Regions from separate parts of the Homo sapiens genome. Here all the other regions are linked to region 1. Evidence: promoter capture Hi-C in human tissues and cell types (Jung and others, 2019). All regions are on one chromosome and are shown on one strand. Each heading gives the region's core, a stretch centred on a gene start or on the middle of the fragment in contact. The rest is flanking DNA. Distances are from core to core; before and after follow the strand shown. Region 1 holds the start of SMYD4 (SET and MYND domain containing 4). Region 2 has its middle 12 kb from the start of BHLHA9. Region 3 holds the start of MNT (MAX network transcriptional repressor).

Region 1 (3,709 bases), core at 779-3,278:
GCCTCAAAAAAAAAAAAAAAAAAAAAAAAAAGGCCGGGCACAGTGGCTCACGCCTGTAACCCCAACACTTTGGGAGGCCGAGGCGGGCGAATCACAAGGTCAGGAGATCGAGACCATCCTGGCTAACACGGTGAAACCCCGTCTCTACTAAAAAATACAAAAAATTAGCCGGGCGTGGTGGCGGGTACCTGTAGTCCCAGCTATTCGGGAGGCTGAGACAGGAGAATGGCGTGAACCCAGGAGGCAGAGCTTGCAGTGAGCCGAGATCGCGCCACTGCCCTCCAGCCTGGGCAACAGAGCAAGATTCCAGCTCAAAAAAAAAAAAAAAAGTTCAAAGGCCCCATGGAAGAAGGTAGGAGTATGGAATATACCAGAAATCTAAATTTAAAAAAAAATGTGGGGGTGACTGGAGAGGTAGGCTGAGAGTATGCTGTGGATGGGAATGGTGGCAGGAACGTATGCTGAGTGGAAGTCAGCAGCTCAGGCAAAAAAAAAGACGGTGCCAGTATGGATGGAGAGAAGCCAGTGGGCTTGATAGATCTACGCAGAGGCAAAATACACTTCACTTCGTGAGGGACTGGATGCCCAGGTAATGGACAATATAGGAGGAATGATTTCTCAATTTCTGGTTAGCACTGAACTGAATAGATAATGGTGCCATCCGTGGAGATAGGGATCAAGAGGCCCAGACTTAGAAAGATAAAGAATTTGCTTTGGGATACGTATACTGAACTTAAAACCCTCTGAAGCATGGAATAAGCAGACAGATGACGGAAGTTTGTCTTTTAGAGTAAAGGTGGCTCTGTACAAAGAAATTTGTGAGCAACTGACATATATTAATAGATGGCAATGGAATTGCCTTGGGGCCAGGCGCGGTGGTTCATGCCTGTAATTCCAGCATTTTGGGAGGCCGAGGCGGGCGGATAACTTGAGGTCTGGTGTTCGAGATCAGCCTGGCCAACATGATGAAACCCAGTCTCTAATAAAAACACAAAAAGTAGCCGAGTGTGGTGGCGCACACATGTAGTCCCAGCTACTCGGGAGGCTGAGACAGGAGACTCACTTGCACCCGGGAGACGGAGGTTGCAGTGAGCCGAGATCGCGCCTCTGCACTCCAGCCTGGGCGACAGTGAGTGTCGCCCAGGCTGGAGAAAAAAAAAGAAATTGCCTCGGGAGTCAAGAGGGCCTAGAGGGAGCCTTGATTCAACAAAAATTTACAAAGAGGGACTTACAAATAAGACGGGGATAGACCTGCCAAGCTGAGCCACTAAAAACCAAGGAAGAGGGTGTGACCTGAAGCAAGCAGGGCTTAAACGCAAACGCTGCTGAGAACTCAGGTAAGCTGAAAACGGAAAAGGGCTGGATTTAGCAACTTGGAGGCCACTGGTACCTTCAGCCAGGGTTTTCTACAGCGATCAAAGGGATGACTGGAGTGGGTTAAAGAGTTGATGAAAGGCGAGGAAAGGAAGTGGCTGAAACCAGACAAGAAGTTTGGCTGTGGGTGGGGAAAGGAGAAGAGACAGAAAGTGTCCGCAGGTGGAAGATGCAGAGAAAGGCAAGCGTTTATTTAGTTTGTTCTTACGTAGGAAAAATGTGAGCATGTTTTAAAGACGATCGAAAGAATGCTTTGAGGAGGGGGCGATGACACTAGAGGGACGCCCGGCGGGTCCCCACCGCCCCCCGCCATCTCCTCCCCTCGCGTTCATCCCCCGTCGCCCCGGGCTCCCCTCCCCCTCTCTACTCCGCGAGGCTCGGGGCCGCAGCCACCCCGGACCGCCGGCCCAGCCCCCGGCACCTCCTCACCGCAATGGCCCCCTCGCTCAGTTGGCCGACCATGGCTCCACCGCCAAGACTTCCCCGCGGACCCCGCAACAGCTCCAGCTTCCCCACCCGGGTCCCGCGCGCTGCGCAGTTATTGGCCCGAGAAGTTGCGCGCACCGCTCCCGCCCCCGACGTGCGCGCGGCTCAGGGGCGGGCCCGGGCGCTACGCAGCCGCCGCATTGGCCGAGGCGCGGCCCACGTGACCCACCCATGGTCCCAAGCGAGGCCTGGCGCGGGACGCCGGACGCGGTGCGGGGCGGAGCGGGGCGCCAAGGGGCGCGCCAGGAGCTGCGCGGGCGCTGGGAGGGAGACCAGGGCGCAGTTCCGGGCGCGTCTGAGCGGTTCTCGAGGCGTTCTCGCCTCGGTCTCTGGCGAGTGCACGGGTTGGTATCCCAGAGGAGGTTAAAGCTGTTCCTTGAGACCTCCGCTGCTAAATAGAGTCGCAGTAGTGACCCGATTCGTCCAGCAACGCGGGGCTGACTTCCCGCCTCCAAGCCCTGAGCTTGGCACCGTGGCGGTGGGGGGTGGGGGTGGGGGGTCTCCGAAAGGGAATCAGACCCGGCCCCCGTCCTTAGAGAAGAGGACAGTGTGTGGGGGCACTTTATGCCGTCAGTAACCCCACCTCCAGGTAGACGTGGTACAGGCCCCAAGGGTGTTGGAATCACAGCTGGGAAATCAGGGACGCCGTCCCGGAGGAGGTGCCATTTGAGCCGAGTCGAAGAACGTGTGGGAATTTTCCAGGTGGACTCCATAAGCCAGGGTAGGGTTGGTCCGGAAAGCATGAGTAGCCTATGCCAAAACATTGGAGAGTTGAAATAGCCTGGCAAGCCGGGGATAGCAATGAGTTGTTCAGTATGCAAGGGTGCATGCAGAGGAGTAAGTGACACCTGAGAATTAGAAAGTCAGACAAGGGTCAAGTAAGGATGGTTTTGTCCTGGGCTTCCTGGTATGCTTGGAGTAGCGTTGATGAATTTAAGGGCAGAGCACTGACTTCTGTCTCAGTGTTGGAGGCTGGATTGAAAGTGGGGAGTGGTGCCAATGGCATGGACATTAATTATAACACTCTAGGAAGAATGCCAGACGAGATGGTGAGGACTTAATCAGAACGCTGAACTATGTAAGAGAGGGAAATACCTTGTTAAATGAATAGTTGCTGGGGTGGGTGAGAAAGAAAAATCTGGGATGTGTCTCAGAGAAACTAGAGAGGGATCAGGCCGGGCGCGGTGGCTCACGCCTGTAATCCCAGCGCTTTGGGAGGCCAAGGCTGGCGGATCATCTGAGGTCAGGAGTTCGAGACCAGCCTGGCCAACATGGTGAAACCCCGTCTCTACTAAAAATACAAAAATTAGCCGGGCGTAGTTGCGCGCATCTGTAATCCCAGCTACTCGGAGGCTGAGGCAGGAGAATTGCTTGAACCTGGGAGGCGGAGGGTGCAGTGAGCCGAGATGGTGCCACTGCACTCCAGCCTGGGTGACAGAGCAAGACTCTGCCTCACAAAAAAAAAAAAAAGAGGATCTAAGAGCACAGATGGTAGCTATCTAGTCTGCTTCGTCTTTGTATAACCATCACCTGCATGGTGCCTGTGACAAAGTAGTCTTTCAGTAAATATTTCTGAATGGAAGGATGTTGAGTGAATTGCTGTGAGAAAATATAGATCCTTCCTTAGCATATAAACTAGAGGAAAAGACCACAAGAATTGATTTTATTGTTTCAGGCTTCCTTGAATGAAATCTTGATTTTCCTTTTTTTTTTTTTTCCGAGACAGAGTCTTGCTCTGTCACCCAGGCTGGAGTGCAATGGCGTGATCTCAGCTCACTGCAACCTCCGCCTCCCCAGTTCACGCAGTTCTCTTGCCTCAGCCTCCCGAGTAGCTGGGACTACAAGTGTG
Region 2 (3,709 bases), core at 801-3,300, 570 kb after region 1:
GGGGGTCGCGGGAGGGGCCGAGGCTGCGGACCCCGCTCCTGGCGCTTCCCTCGGCTCCAGCCTCCCAGGGTCGGGCTCTGAGCTGGGGCGCCCGCGTTGGGGGATTCTTCACGGTCCTTGTTATCCGTCGCCCCGTTTTCAGATGAGAAAACTGAGTCTCAGTAAGTTTCCCCTGACTGCAAAGCTTCCGTTCTCAATTACTTTATTTATTTAATTTTTTTTTTTTGAGGCGGAGTCTCGCTCGGTCTCCAGGCTGGAGTGCAGCGGCGCGATCTCGGCTCACTGCAAGCGCCGCCTCCCGGGTTCACGCCGTTCTCCTGCCTCAGCCTCCCCCGAGCAGCTGGGACTGCAGGCGCCCGTCACCACGCCGGGCTAATTTATTTTTGTATTTTATTTTTGTAGAGATGGGGGTGGGGTGGGTCTCATTTTGTGGGCCAGGCAGGTCTCGAACTCCGCCCGCCTCGCTTGGCAAAGCGCCGGGACTACAGGCTGAACCGCGTGCCCGGCGGGAACTGGGCTCCTCTCTTTGGCATCTCTCCCCACTCACTCCTTTTCTGTCCCTTTTGATCGGCTCCTCTTCTTCCGACAATCCCTTAAAGGTCAAATGTCTCCTTTCAGCTGCAGCTTCTCTCCCGACGTTCAGAGCCGTGTTCCCGTGTCCGGGTGACCGTTCCGCAGACATCTCCACCCAGTTCCCACACTCTGCTCCCTGGCTCCCCGGCTCCCCACCGGGGTGAACGAGCAAAGGAACAAAACCATCGCCCACCCTCCCACCGCCTCCCGCCATCATTGTGGCGGACTCAGAAGGGAACTTTTTATTCCTAGACTCCAAACCTTAGCAACTTTGGAAAGAGAAACGTGGGGCGTGAAGAACAAAAGTGGAACCCCGGCGCCCTCTTCTGGTCAGAAAGTGGAACTCCAGGCCGGGCGCGGTGGCTCACACCTGTAATCCCAGCACTTTGGGAGGCCTGGGCGGGCGGATCTCTTGAGGTCAGGAGTTCGAGACCAGCCTGGCCAACATGGCGAAATCCCGTCGCTACCAAAATACAAAAATTAGCCGGGCGTGGTGGCGGGCGCCTGTAATCCCAGCCACTTGGGAGGCTGAGCCAGGAGAATCGCTTGAACCTGGGAGGTGGAGGTTGCAGTGAGCCCAGATCACGTCACTGCACTCCAGCCTGGGCGACAGAGCAAGACTCCATCGTCTCAAAAAAAAAAGAAAAAAGTTGAACCCCATGAAGCGCTCAGTTCAGGCCTCTTGTTGGGCTAAGGCCCTGCTGCTTGGTGCTGTCCACCTGGGGCTGCCCCTGCAAAAGCTGAAGTTTTATGTCTTGTCATCTGTGCTGGGAGAGGAAGCTGCTCTTTTGCGCTGGTCAGGTTCTTCCTGCACTTCTCTTGGAGGACCTTCAGGTCTTCATCATGTACAACCCGCAGTTTCATTGCACGTAGCCCACCTCTCCTGTCTCAGAGGAAAAATTGATACCATCAGATGCGAACCCTCAGCTTCCTGCCTGGGCCCACAAAGAGATCTGTCTGCACCCATTTGCACGTCCTGCTGTCTGAAGATAACCCTGCTGCTGGGGCGGTGGGGGAAGCATCTCCACTCCCACCCTCACAGAAGGTACACTTTGAGCCGCTAGCTATTATTCCCTCTCTCCAGTTGCTTTTTGATCTTTCATGGGTTTTTGGGGGGTGTTTTTTTGTTTTTTGTTTTTGCTTTTTGAGACAGGGTCTTATTCTGTCACTGAGGCTGGGAGGCAGTAGCATAATCACAGCTCACTGCAGCCTCGACCTCCTGGGCTCAAGCAATCCTTCCACCTCAGCCTCCCGAGCAGCTGGGATTGCAGGCATGCGCCACCAAGCCCGGCTAATTTTTTGTATTTTCAGTAGAGATGGGATTTCACCATGTTGGCCAAGTTGGTCTCGAACTTCTGACCTCGTGATCCACCCACCTCCGCCTCCCAAAGTGCTGGGATTACAGACGTGAGTCGCCGCGACCGGCCACCCATTTTTTGTGCTTTAATGAACGTTATTTTTTAGAATGATTTTAGATGTACAGAAAAACTAGGCCGAGCGAGTGGCTCCTGCCTGTAATCTCAGCACTTTGGGAGCCTGAGGTGGGTGGATCACTGGAGGTCAGGAGTTTGAAACCAGCCTGGCGAACATGGTGAAACCCCGTCTTTACTAAAAATACAAAAAGTAGCCAGATGTGGTGGCACACACCTGTAATCCCAGCTACTTGGGAGGCTGAGGCAGGAGAATCGCATAAATCCAGGAGGTGGAGGTTGCAGTCAGTGGAGACTGTGTCATTGCAATCCAGCCTGGGGGACAAGAGTGAAACTTTGCCTCAAAAGAGAAAGAAAGAAAAAAAAAAGATGTACAGAAAAACTGAGAAGCGAATACCAAGAGTCCCCCATGTATCCTGAACCCATTTCCTTGTTATTAACATATCACATTACTGTAGTACATTTATTACAATTAACGAATCAATATTGTCATATCATTATTATTAAGAAACCCTGTCTCTACGAAAAATTAAAAAATTAGCTGGGGGTGGTGGTATGCATCTGTAGTCCCAGCTACTCAGGAGGTTGAGGTGGGAGGATCCCTTGAGCCCAGGAGTTTGAGGCTGCAGTAAGCAAAGATCACGTCACTGCACTCTAGCCTGGGCGACAAAGCGAGACCCAGTCTCTAAAAAGTAGAAATAGGCCGCACGCGGTGGCTCATGCCTGTAATCCCAGCACTTTGGGAGGCCGAGGCGGGTGGATCACCTGAGGTCAGGAGTTCAAGACCAGCCTGACCAACATGGCAAAAACCCGTCTCTGCTAAAAATACAAAATTCGCCGGGTTCGGTGGTGCATTCCTGTAATCCCAGCTACTTGGGAGGCTGAGGCAGGAGAATTGCTTGAACCTGGGAGGTGGAGGTTGCAGTGAGCCAAGATCGTGCCACTGCACTCCAGCCTGGATGACAGAGCAAGACTCCATCAAAAAAAAAAAAAAAAAAAGTAGAATTAAAAAAGGGGTTTCAGGCCTACAAGGAGTCAGAAAAATTTCCCTCATGTGCATGAAATTGAGGCAGGTGAACATGATCAAAGAGATCAGAACTGCCTCAGAGATAGGAGTCTGGCAGGTGAGGGAAAGGAAGAAGGAAGTGCTGGGCAGCCGGGGAAGCTTGGCGAGGGGTGGACTGGTGAGCATGGGGCGTCAGCCTTTGTCCCCCGACCCCCACCCGCACACATACAGCCGGATGGGCCCCGGCTCTGTGGCCTCCAACTCTCACCCTTGAAGCTGCTGCAGTGAGCGCCGGAGAAAGAAGCCAGGAAGGAAACTGCTCCCACCCAGCACCTCCACCCGCCAGGAGCTGGCCGGTGTGGTTTCCATTTCTGCTTGTTTTCCTGGCGTCCACCCTCCGTTCTCTCACTAAAGTGATCTCTCTTGGCCGGGTGCGGTGGCTCACGCCTGTAATCCCAGCAATTTTGGGAGGCTGAGGCGGGTGGATCACCTGAGGTCAGGAGTTCAAGACCAGCCTGACCAACATGGTGAAACCCCATATCTACTAAAAATACAAAAAGTAGCCGGGCATGGTGGTGGGCACCTGTAGCCCCAGCTACTCAGGAGGCTGAGGCAGGAGAATCGCTTGAACCCGGGAGGCGGAGCTTGCAGTGAGCTGAGATCGTGCCATTGCACTCCAGCCTGGGCGACAGAGTGAGAC
Region 3 (3,709 bases), core at 305-2,804, 570 kb before region 1:
TATCGCTGCCGCTGTACCAGTGGGGTTCGTGTGGCTTCCACCGAGGAAGCAGAACAGCGGAGTTGGGTCTCAGGTGAAGATTTTTGTTGCCCCAATCACAGTGTGTTAAGTGGTCAGGGTTGCTATTCCTCCCTGGCATTTTTCTAATTGGGGGCCCTCCTCCAGAACTGGCTTCAGAGTCGTCCCTGGGGTCAGGGAAGAGTGCCCCCGCTTCGGGAGAGAGGAGCAGGTGGAATACGGAACGACCTTAGGCGAGTCCTTGGCCGTCACGGCCTCAGTTTCCTTATGTGTGAAGTGAGAGGATTTAAGGGCAGCCGGCCTCAAAGAGCTAACTCTCCGATTGCACCCGAGCTCCCCTAAACACTCGAGCCCGGAAGACGCGGGCGGGCGGGCGGGCGACGGGGGGTCCCTCCCTCTGGGGAGCGCGGTTCCAGCCGGCCGCAGCGGACCCCGCCCCCGCGCCCCGCCCACCGCCGGTCGCCAGGCGCGGGGAGGGCCGGGCTTCCGCCCTCCACGTTGTTGTTCCCGATTTGGGCCACGCCCCCCGGTCTGGGCTGCGGGCGCTTCGTGTTCCCCGCCCTGGCCCCGGCCCCAGAGGAAAGGGTGGCCCATGGGGTGGCACAGTCCGTATCTCCACCCACATCGAATACGCGTGGACAAAGACTGGAGTTCAGGGGAAGGAAAGATAAAGGCCTGGTTTTAAATGGAAGGTGGTGAAAAGGAATGGAGAGGCCAGGGCACGACTGCGGGATTCCCCTTACGGCATCCCACCCTGGGTTCGCCCAGTGGCCCCATCCGCACCCGCGAATGTGACCTGCAGACACTGGCCCTTTAAACCGAAGGCTGGCGGCGCGGGGTGTCCATGTGGAGCTGCTCCATGCCGTGTTGTCCTGCCCGCCCATTGGCTCGCGGCCCGGTGACGTCCCCTAATAGGATGCGAACGCACTGCGGGGGGAGGAACGGAGACAAAACGCGGAGCCGGACTGCCGCTCCGCTCCCTCCGCTGGTTCTCTTGACAGTCTCCAGTCGCCGGCAGCTCCGCCCAGGGGCGGATCCCGGGGGAATTGCGACAGCCCGGCGATTGCGGGATTTAGGTCGCGAGTGGGTGGAGCGTGGAGACCCAGGGTCAGGCCAGTCTCTGCCATTCCCAAGGTTTCCCTGACCCGGAATATCCTGGTTGGAACTCTGTTAAATCTTGAATTGTTCACCCTACCCTCCCTCCAGCAGGACAGATTTCGTCGTGAACGACCCAAACGCACCGCCCCGGCCCAACTTGTGGCTTGCAGCCGGGGCGGGGCCAGCAGGAAAGCGGAACCGCGGCGCGCACACCCCGCTCGGACCTCTCCCTCCCTGCCCGGGCCACGTGTGCGCGCGCCGGATCCGGGGGGCGGGGCCAGCAGCGCAGGACCCGCCCCTCCCTTCGCGAGACGCCGCGGCCCTGCGGGCGGGGGCTCCGGTCCGGGCTTTGGCTGTGGCCCCGGTGTAGTAGCGGGGGCGGCGGCCGGGGGCAGCGCGGCTCCTTCCCTTGTTGTGTGTGTCGGTGCCTCCTCGCCATCTTGTTGCAAAGCCCTTTCTTGTCGGCGGGACTCCCGGGGGCCGCGGGGCGGGAGGCATCGGAAGGGAGGTAGAGAGGGAGGGGAAGAAGGGAGGCAGTGCCGCCTTTTTTTTTTTTTTGCATCCCATTTTTTTAAATTTGCAATTTTATATTTTGCAAATATTTTGAGAGACATTGATTTTTCTCCCCGTGCTCCCCCGTTCTTCCCTGCGGAGTGCGCTGCGCCGCCCAGCCCTGTCGCCCCCCGGAGGTGATCCCTCCCTCCTGCCTGCCCGCCAGCCTGACCTGTGCCCGGCTCGCGGGCCGCAGCCTCGGCCCCGGCGCGCCCCCGGCAGCTCTCGGCGCGATGAGCATAGAGACGCTACTGGAGGCGGCCCGCTTCCTGGAATGGCAAGCGCAGCAACAACAGAGAGCACGTGGTGAGCGGCCGGGCTGGGCCCCTGGGGCACTGGGGAAGGGGAAGCGAGTGACCCCGGTCCCCGAACCCACGCGAAACCGCGGACAGGGCCCCCTCCCGGGCGGCCTGCGGAGCCTGGCAGCGCACGGCTCCCCGCGAGAGCCGCCGCCTGGGGAGGGGTGATGTGGGCAGTGAAATTAATTAATGAATTCATTAACATGCTGCGAGGGACCTGGCTCCTGCGGGCGCCACCCCGGCTGCGTGGCACCCCTGTGCCCCTTCTGTGGTGGGCTGCTTTTGCGTGGGCCAGCGGAGCCCTCGGTGGCACTGAGGATGTGTGAGCCGGGGGGTGGGGTGAGGAATGGTGTTGCGTGGGGGTGGCAGGCTCGCGTGTGCGTGCGTGTGTGCACGGGGGATGTGTGATGTGAGCCTCGGGAAGAGCAGATGAACGGACGTGTACACGGGCGTGTGTATAGCACACGAGTGGGCGTGTGTGTAACGGAGTGGGGGTGGGGACTACTCTACGCGGAGCAGCTCTTCGGCTTCCCTGGCCCCGTGGGGAGGGTGCGGGGGGCGCTCCCGGCAGATCTACGCGCCGCTTGGGGCGGAGGCGGCCTTTGCAGAATGAAATGACATCGCGTGTCTTATGATCCTGGCCAGCCCCGCCTGACCCCGCCTCCCAGAGCTGGGCTGGGCTGCGCGTCCGGGGTTTGGGTGAAAGCCGGGCTAATTGGGCGTTTGCGAAATGGCCCGCGGGTCGCTGGGGGTCAGCCCCCGGGCCCCCCTCGCTGCGCCCCGCTTTAGCCAGTGTGGAATGTGGCGTGTCTGCGCGTTCCAAACCCGCTCTCGCCTGGAATGTTGCGTGTGCCTGCGTTCCGAGCCCGTTGGTTACACCGGGTGGTGACGTGGACGGGCTCCGCCCCCGACCACGTGCACCGGGGACACTCCTGCTGGGGACGGCGCGGCCCGGCCCCTCCTCACCGCCTCGCGCTCGGCCGGGGGCGGGGCCTGGGCGGGGCTGGCAAGGGGCCTTGCGCTGGGTTGGGCCTGGGCCCGGGCCCCGGCCTCTGGGCACCTCCCAGGGAGAGCCTTTGCCCTGCGAGGGAGGAGCCGAGCTCACCTGTCGGCTCTGGCCCCTAACCTCCTGTGTTTGATCCCGAGGCAAGGGAAACCCTCAGAATCGCAGGGCGACGAGACATTTAGAGCTCACATTTTTCCACTGACCCCCAAAACGTTCCAACTATGCCCCCTGGCATCAGCCGGGGCCACGCTGGAATGAGCCAGGATGAGAAAGGGCAAACTTCGGCGCTCCCTCGAAAGGGAAGAGACTAATGACTCCTATCTTCACGCGCCCTGTTGGTGGTCCCTGGCTTCAGGGTGCTGCAGAGGGGCTGGCGGGAAAGACCTCCCTTTTCCAGGGTGCTGCCAGGGCCTCGGCTCTGGAACGGTGTGTGTGCAGGACCCGGGGACTCCTGTGCCCTCCCCGCCCCCCAGAATCCCCCGGCAGGGTTGGTTGTGTTGGAGAGTGCTTCGCCCTCCTTTCCTTTCTCTCTGCCTATTGTTGCTTCAATGATGAGTCATGCAGGAGGTAGTAGTGTGTTGTGTGCGCGCGCGCCGCCGTGTGCCGCCGCCGCGGCGGGCGGGGGTGGGGGAAGGGGGGAGCGGCAGCGGGCAAGGGGCGGGGGAGCTGCGGGGCCGGCGGCCTAGTCGGGGCGACCGGCCTCTCAAGGTCAAGAGTCACTGGAGATATGTGAGGC

The links. Contacts are between HindIII fragments. The study calls those that stand out against the background at their distance.
Region 2: a fragment that was not itself captured here is called in contact with the fragment with the promoter of SMYD4 in region 1 in 1 of the 25 tissues and cell types used here (heart right ventricle).
Region 3: a contact is called between the fragment with the promoter of MNT here and the fragment with the promoter of SMYD4 in region 1, in 1 of the 25 tissues and cell types used here (lymphoblastoid cells).

What each region holds. Positions count from the first base shown.
Region 1 is chr17:1,828,221-1,831,929 of GRCh38, reverse strand. SMYD4 (SET and MYND domain containing 4) reads left to right here and starts at 2,028. Exons shown (of 11, transcript NM_052928.3): 1 at 2,028-2,204. It overlaps RPA1 (replication protein A1), which reads right to left and starts at 1,925. Exons shown (of 17, transcript NM_002945.5): 1 at 1,804-1,925. The coding sequence starts at 1,836. RefSeq lists an enhancer at 529-1,029 and a silencer at 1,657-2,176. The HindIII fragment of the contact is 28,265 bases long and covers 1-3,709 here.
Region 2 is chr17:1,256,469-1,260,177 of GRCh38, reverse strand. No RefSeq gene overlaps it. Among named protein-coding and RNA genes, the nearest start is that of BHLHA9, 12 kb to the left of the region's middle. The HindIII fragment of the contact is 4,603 bases long and covers 1-3,709 here.
Region 3 is chr17:2,398,905-2,402,613 of GRCh38, reverse strand. It overlaps MNT (MAX network transcriptional repressor), which reads left to right and starts at 1,554. Exons shown (of 6, transcript NM_020310.3): 1 at 1,554-1,974. The coding sequence starts at 1,902. RefSeq lists enhancers at 1-16, 17-587, 959-1,008, 2,299-2,869, 2,870-3,439 and 2 more, silencers at 309-628, 1,279-1,588, 1,779-1,858, 2,009-2,068, 2,589-3,078 and a cis regulatory region at 3,552-3,567. The HindIII fragment of the contact is 14,706 bases long and covers 1-3,709 here.